Regions from separate parts of the Homo sapiens genome. Here region 1 is linked to region 2. Evidence: promoter capture Hi-C in human tissues and cell types (Jung and others, 2019). All regions are on one chromosome and are shown on one strand. Each heading gives the region's core, a stretch centred on a gene start or on the middle of the fragment in contact. The rest is flanking DNA. Distances are from core to core; before and after follow the strand shown. Region 1 overlaps DEPTOR (DEP domain containing MTOR interacting protein). Region 2 holds the start of DSCC1 (DNA replication and sister chromatid cohesion 1).

Region 1 (3,789 bases), core at 1,260-3,759, 190 kb before region 2:
GATGCTGAGTACTATTAATCTCTTTCCTTTCAAAAAATACCCACTTCTTTCACGGTCACAGGCAAAACAAAATGGAAAGCGGGCAGTAGTACACAGACTGCTTATTTACTCAATAAACACTCGCTGTTGTCATAAACCTTGATACTTTGCACTCCCCAACCTACTAGGGTGTTTTCTCCACATAAGATCACACTATTACTGTTTCTCTTTTCTTGGTTCCACAAATTTGTCTTCATGGATTCAGGGTACATCTTATACAAAATCAGCAGTTTTCAACCATGGTGGAGGTCACAGTCATAATCAAGGTCACACAAACAGGTCACAATCTATCCTGAACTAGGCCACAGTAATTTGCAAGACAATTTAGCAGTAATTTGCAATTTAGCAGGCATCAGCCTGGGCTTTGTTTTTTTCTGCTGCAGCAGACTCATGAGCCAAAGAATGAGAAGAATTTCACCTCCTTCCCAACCCAGAGCTTTAGACCCTAGACTTGGAAATTTCAAATCCCTTGTCTTTTCCACAGATACAGGGGTTTCTTTTTCCAAAAAGATGAATAGCCTTTTTGCACTGCCAAATAAGAGGGCAGGAGTTGCCAGGTGAGTGCCCTCTCCAGCTGACCCTTCGCAGGCTCCCTGAGATTAGCCATGTCTCCGCATCGCTCAGGGATCACATTTCACCATTTACTTTTTTTTTTTTTTGACATGGAGTCTCCCTCTGTTGCCCAGGCTGGAGTGCTGTGGCACGATCTCCTCCATCTCCCAGGCTCAAGCGATCCTCCCACCTCAGCCTCCCGAGTAGCTGGGATTACAGGTGTGTGCCACCATGCCCAGCTAATTTTTTGTATTTTTGGTAGAGAGGGGGTTCGCCATGTTGGCCAGTCTGGTCTTGAACTCTTGACCTCCGGTGATCCTCCCACCTTGGCCTCCCAAAGTGCTGGGATTATAGGTGTGAGCCACCACACTTGGCCTCAGCATTTAGTCTTAACCACAATTGTGTGTCCTCTGTCACACATCATGTTTGTTTTAATTGACCAGCATTTAAAATTTAGAAAATCTGCCAGGCACAGTAGCTCATGCCTGTAATCCCAGCACTTTGGGAGGCCGAGGCAGGTGGATCACTTGAGGTGGATCAGCCTGGCGGGTGGATCAGCCTGGTCAACATGGTGAAACCCCGTCTCTACTAAAAATACAAAAAAATTAGCTGGGCGTGGTGGCGGATGCCTGTAATCCCAGCTACTTGGAAAGCTGAGGCAGAAGAATCACTTGAACCCGGGAGGTGGAGGTTGTAGTGAGCCGAGATCACACCATTGCACTCCAGCCTGGGCAACAACAGTGAAACTCCATTTCAAAAAATAAAAGTAAAAAATAAAATAAAATTTGGAAAATCTTTGCATAAAAATCCAGACTCTGGGCTGGGTGCAGTGGCTCACATCTGTAATCCCAGCACTTTGGGAGGCCGAAGCGGGCAGATCACCTGAGGCCAGAAGTTCAAGACCAGCCTGGCCAACATGGTGAAACCCCATCTCTACTAAAAATACAAAAATTAGCCAGGTGTAGTGGCACACCTGTAATCCCAGCTACTCAGGAGCCTGGGGCAGGAGAATTGCTTGAACCTGGGAGGCAGAGGTTGCAGTGGGCCGAGATTCTGCCACTGCACTCTAGCCTGGGCAACAAAGCAAGACTCTGTCTCAAAATAAATAAATAAATAAAAACCCAGACTCTGGCTTCTCTGGGACAATCAGAAGCTGTGATCATACCAGGTGTAGATGGCCATGTGGCCATGGCTGAGTAGAGCCTGCCTGTTCTACACATGGCATGGACACTCATTTGCCACAGTCCTTACGGCTTCCTATCTTCCTAACACCTGGCTGACAGGCATGTGAGTTTGTGGTCCCTGATCTATGGCCACCAGAGGGAAAAGCGTTGAAGACAGGGTGGCTTGAAGCTTCAAGAACTGAAGGACCCCAATGTTTGTCAACAGATGAAAGGAGGTTGGGCGTGGTGGCACATGCCTGTAATCCTAACACTTTGGGAGGCTGAGGCAGAAGGATTGCTTGAGCCAGCCTGGACAACATAGTGAGACTCCGTCTCTACAAAATATATATATCTATATATTTAAAAAATTTAAAAAGACAGATGAAAGGAGAAATATAATTCAGTATATCCATACAGTGGAATATTATTCGGCCATAAAATGGAACATACAACATGCTACAACATGGGTGAGCCCTGAAAACATTATGCTAAGTAAAAGATGCCAGTCAGAATAGACCATAGAGTGTAAGAGCCCATTTATATGAAATGTCCAGAGTAGGCAAATCCACAGAGACAGCAAGTAGATTATTGATTACTTAGGGTTGGGAGCAGGGGTGGTGGGGTGGGGCATGGAAGTGGTTGGTAATGGGTACGGGGTTTCTTTTAGGGGTGATAAAAATGCTCTAAAATTGTTGTAATAGTGACATAAATCTGTGAATATATTAAAAACTACTGAATTCTACAGTTTACATGGATAAATTGCATGGTATGTGAACTATATCTCCATAAAGCTCTTAGTTAAGTAATGAAACAAAACAAAACAATAAACATTGAAGGGAAGAGGGCCCTGATGCTAACAGTGGGTAGATTCTTGGTCTACAAGGATCTCCCTTCTGTCTAGAAGGGAGAGGCTGGTTTGGTTCAAGATGGGGTCCTGTGCACCTCTTGATTGCAGAGCTCTTGGAGGCCTCAGAAGCTAGGATGGTCAAGGCTGTATGTGTGGGAGGATGAGCACCTGGTGAACTCTGCACAGGACCTTTACCCAGGTGTTCAGGGGTAGGAAAAGGGCAGTCAGCAGGGCTGTCTGGCCAAGGGCCAGTGGCACCAGTCACTAATACTGGTCAGGGTTCATTTTACTGGACTGCCTAAAAGCCCTGGGATGGGGGCTGTGGTGGGTTATGGTGCACATGATCTCAAACGGGAAGGACATAGGCAAGGGACACCAAAATGATCTGACATTGAACTTGTCATCAACCTTGGTGATGGTCACTTCAACTGAATTTAATTTTAGAAAAACAGGCCGGGCACGTGCAGTGGCTCACGTCTGCAATCCTAGCACTTTGGGAGGCCAAGGCAGGCGGATCACTCGAGCTCAGGAGTTCAAGTCCAGCCTAGGCAACATGGCGAAACTCTGTTTCTACAAAAATAAAAATAAAAAATTAGCCAGGTGTGGTGGCACACGCCAGTAGTCCCAGCTACTTGGGGGACTGAGGCAAGAGTATCGCTTCAACCCAGGCGGTTGAAGCTGCAGTGAACCAAGATCATGCCACTGCATTCCAGCCTGAGTGACAAAGTGAGATCCTGCCTAAAAAACATAAAAGATAAAAAATAAAAAAATTAGAAAAACAGAAAAAGGTCATTTCTTGTTTTTGTTTTCTAAGTGTATGCACACACACATTTCTCAAATGCCAAAGTTTGTGACTAATTCACTCTTTCATAAAGTAAGGCTGATTCAGGGCTACCCTAGGCATAAAGACAGTCTCACTCCCTTGCGTTCCCACATGCTGTCCAGAGCAGCCAGTCAAGAGTGGGGTCAGAGCAAGCACACCGTGAACTGCTCATTTCACACAAACCTTCTTACTTGTGCTGCCACCTGAGCACATCTCTAGGGGTATAGAGGATCAGGTGAAGACCCTCTGTCACAGGTGTTCTGGAGAAAAAGCCCATGACATCTTGTACCAACTAGTGTGTGGAGAACTTAAATAAGATTTATTAGGTAGGTGCAAAAGCAATTGTGGTTTTGCAACTTTTAATT
Region 2 (3,754 bases), core at 1,176-3,675:
TGGAGGGGCAGTGGGAAGGGGGATGAAAAGCAGGAAAATCTGTTAGAAAGTCACAGTAATAAGAATAAGGACCGAAAGCAAGGCCACATTTTCAGTTTTTGGAATGTCTGGAAGTGACTGTGTTCCTTTTTTTTTTTTTTTTTTTTGAGACAAGAGTCTCACTCTGGAGTGCAGTGGCATGATCTCCGCTCACTTCAACCTCCGCCTCCTGGGTTCAAGCGATTGTCCTGTCTCAGCCTCCAGAGTAGCTGGGATTACAGGCGCCTGCCACCATGCCCGGCTAATTTTTTTGTACTTTTAGTAGAGACGGGGTTTCGCCATGTTGGCCAGGCTGGTCTCGAACTCCTGACCTCAGGTGATCTGCCCACCTTGGCCTCCCAAAGTGTCGGCATTACAGGCGTGAGCCACTGCACCTGGCCGTCACTGTGCTCTTTATTGAATAAAAAAGAAGAGAAGAGAGGAAAAGAAAAGGAAAAAAGTTCATACATGATTCTATAATATGAACTAAGATTTAGTAAATAAAATTCTCATTTCATGCCATGAAACACAATATATGAGCAATATAATCAAGAGTACAGTGTCCAAGAGAACAGAATCAATTTTAGCTGATTCTGTTCTCATGAACAGAACTTTTGAAATTTATTATAACTGTTCATTTTTTTACCTGATAAAGAATATTTTTTTCCTGCTACCAGATGAATGATTAAGCCAGCTTCAATCGTTTTTTGAAAAGGTACAGAAAATTTCTTACTTTAGAAAAACATATTAACATAATTTTAAAGAATGAATTAATAAAAACTATCATCATTTTGTCTTATGAGAGGAACACAGGTCCAGCTCCCTGACAGAATATCAAATTAATGGCAATAATTTCATACCATTAATTGGAAATTAAATTCATAATGATTAATACATAAAAACAAAAAGAACTGCTGCCATTTATTAAGCAGCCATGCATTTTAGAATGTACATCTTAAGAATGTAGGTCTTATGTGCTTTTTTATCGATAAGGAAGTTGTACTCAGAGAAATTAGGTAAATTGCCTTAGGTCACAAAGTTCTGAAGAGAGTTGGGATTCGCAGCCATGCCTGTCTGATGTAAATGTCAGGGTTCTAGTTGACACTGCTTCTAGTTGTAGGGAATGTTTCCCATTTAATAGAGCAACTACAATGGTTGATTCCCTTCAATAATAACTTCTTATCAGGCAACCACTGTCACATTCAGGATTTCATTCCACCGAATTCCTATGCATTCAAATGTAAAAGAGGCTAGTGAAGAAGTAGGTCACATGAACCAATCTTTCCACCACCAACGAAAGCACTGCCCAGACTCCTGGGATGCCCTACTCTGGTATTTTCGTATCATTTTACCCAAGAATTGAAAAAAATGTCTGCTCAGATCCTTTGAATTCAACACCTTACCCACCACTTTCTTTCACTTCAAGCAAGGTCTGATTTGCACTAACTAGTAGGAGGTCACCATCTCTTAAGTGATTCCTCCCAGACTATTTTAGCTCTCAGGGACAGCCAGGGCCCTCAACGATTCCCTAAGCATCTCTGGGAAAGTTTACACATTACGCTGTTACAAGCAATTCATGTATGTGTGCATAGTGAAAACCTTTTCTCTTAAAACTCTTAATACTGAAGTTCCCCAAACCTTTGGAAAATGTACAAGTCACAGATGCTCCTGTGACTTGTTTTTCCCTTCGGGTGCGTCCTCAACCTTGCTTAAATAAACCTCTATTGAACGAGACCTGCATCAGTCACTTTTCGGTTAACACTAGGTATTCAACGAATAGACTAGTCCCGCCGTTGTCTCCAGATATGATGGTGCCCTGACCCAAAGAAGCGAGATACTCCTTCCCAGGGCCTCGCTCCCGAGCATGGGTTATTTGCACAAAACCCCGCAGGAAGCTTTTAGAGCCACAGTCGGCTAGGCTGGAGTCAGACTCTGTTACCTCCTGACTCTGCCATCACGAGCAAGGAGCCTGCTTCCTCATTGGCAAAAGGGAATGACCAAGGCACCACCTTACAGGGTTGTGGCAACGGGCTCATGGAATTATACATGCCAAGTGGTTATCACAGGGCCCGCCACTGGCGGAAGGTGAGACAATGTGGACGGCGAGGAAATGGGAGCATCGGCTGGAAACCAGGGACGGAGATCGGGGATGGGGGGCGGGCAAGGGGACAGCGGAAAGGGTGGGCGAGGGATCCGTGTCCCAACCCGCCGAGTCGCAGCTCTGCCCCTGCGAGCTTCCGCCGAGACCGCCCCCCGGGAAGCCGCGTTTCCTTCCTGCAGTCGCGGTCCGGCGTGGGGCACGGAGGGGCTCGCGCTCCCAGAAGCCGGCAGGCCTTCCCGCGGGCGGGCCCGCAGCGCGCTCCGCCCCGGAAACACGCCCATGGCCGCCTTGGCGCGCTTTCAAACGCTCAGGTTTCCTACCTTCCGGCTGCTTGGGAACTTCTTTCTTGCCCGCCAAGCCCGCAGCCACCCGGGCGCGGCGGGACTCCTAGACCCGGCGCTGCGATGAAGAGGACCCGCGACGAGGTGGATGCGACGCTGCAGATCGCCAAGCTGAATGCGGCCGAGCTGCTGCCGGCGGTGCACTGCCTGGGCTTCGGCCCTGGGGCCAGCGGCGCTGCAGCCGGCGACTTCTGCCTGCTGGAGCTGGAGCCCACGCTGTGCCAGCAGCTGGAGGATGGACACAGGTGAGCCCTGGTCACGCGGCGCCCCCAGCCTCTGGCCGGCCACGTTATTTTCTCAGCGGGGAAAGTCGGGATAAGAAAACAGGGCCAGAGAGATGCACTGACCTGGCCGGGGGCTCATAGCAAGCTGCCTGTTCCCGAGGAGTCCACGCCTCCGGTGGGCCGTCCAGTTAGCTGCACTGCGGTGATGAGTAGCACTGGTCCAGCTGACCTTGGAGGCATGTGTCAGCGGGAGCAAGTCAGGAAATACTAATACAACCTCCGTGAAGTTTTTGAAGAGTTACCGGTGATTACAGGGACTCTACAGGACACCTGTCACTCTACCTTAAAATACAGTGGTGATACCCAATGTTTATAGAACTCTTGCCTTCCACTTATATTTATTTTACTCAGATGATAGATAGGAAGTGCTGGGAATCAGCTTACAGACTTGGTAATTGGGTGAGACCCCTACCCACCCCGAAGCAAACTTGCTTAGTAGGGATCTGAAGCTGTTTCTAATTCCAGGTCAGATACAAACTTGCTGCAAGATCATTGATTAGAAGTCGAAGTTGAGGTAGTTTTTTAAAGGCAGTCTTGAGAAGTCTAGAGAATCGTTATATCCCTCCACCCTGTGCAGCCCCAGCTCCTGCAAAATAGGGAGCTCCAGCTTGATTCTCTTTTGCACAATTGGTCCTCCGACACCTATATTTTATTAGGCTATTTTTTCTCTTTTTTCTTAATGGAATCCTTTAGGCTGTCTTTCAGTTTTCGTACTTTGCCCACCAAAGAGTGTTAGAGTAAACTGGCCATTCTTCAGATACCTGCTATATACCTCAAAGTACCTTTAAGGGAACTGAAAGAACTTCACTAGTCTGTTTCCATCCCGGTTCAGTTGGTGGAGAGTTGAGAAAGGAACTCAGGTGTGAGGACTTTCTCTCGGTCCAGTTCTAGTTAATCTAGCTGGCAAAAACAAAACAAAACAAAAACAAAAAAATAAAAACAGGCCCTGGAAACGTGTGTTTTTAATTTTGGGGTGTAGGGAGTGATGGTATAAACAAAATATTTCAAAG

The links. Contacts are between HindIII fragments. The study calls those that stand out against the background at their distance.
Region 1: a contact is called between a fragment that was not itself captured here and the fragment with the promoter of DSCC1 in region 2, in 2 of the 25 tissues and cell types used here (dorsolateral prefrontal cortex and hippocampus).

What each region holds. Positions count from the first base shown.
Region 1 is chr8:120,044,942-120,048,730 of GRCh38, reverse strand. All of the region lies in intron 8 of DEPTOR (DEP domain containing MTOR interacting protein), which reads right to left. Among named protein-coding and RNA genes, the nearest start is that of COL14A1, 78 kb to the left of the region's middle. RefSeq lists enhancers at 1-265, 266-1,125. The HindIII fragment of the contact is 3,861 bases long and covers 579-3,789 here.
Region 2 is chr8:119,854,565-119,858,318 of GRCh38, reverse strand. DSCC1 (DNA replication and sister chromatid cohesion 1) reads left to right here and starts at 2,425. Exons shown (of 9, transcript NM_024094.3): 1 at 2,425-2,705. The coding sequence starts at 2,524. It overlaps LOC105375728 (a long non-coding RNA gene), which reads right to left. Exons shown (of 4, transcript XR_928590.3): 2 at 3,517-3,644; 3 at 2,440-2,913. RefSeq lists a silencer at 2,274-2,333 and an enhancer at 2,444-2,753. The HindIII fragment of the contact is 8,457 bases long and covers 1-3,754 here.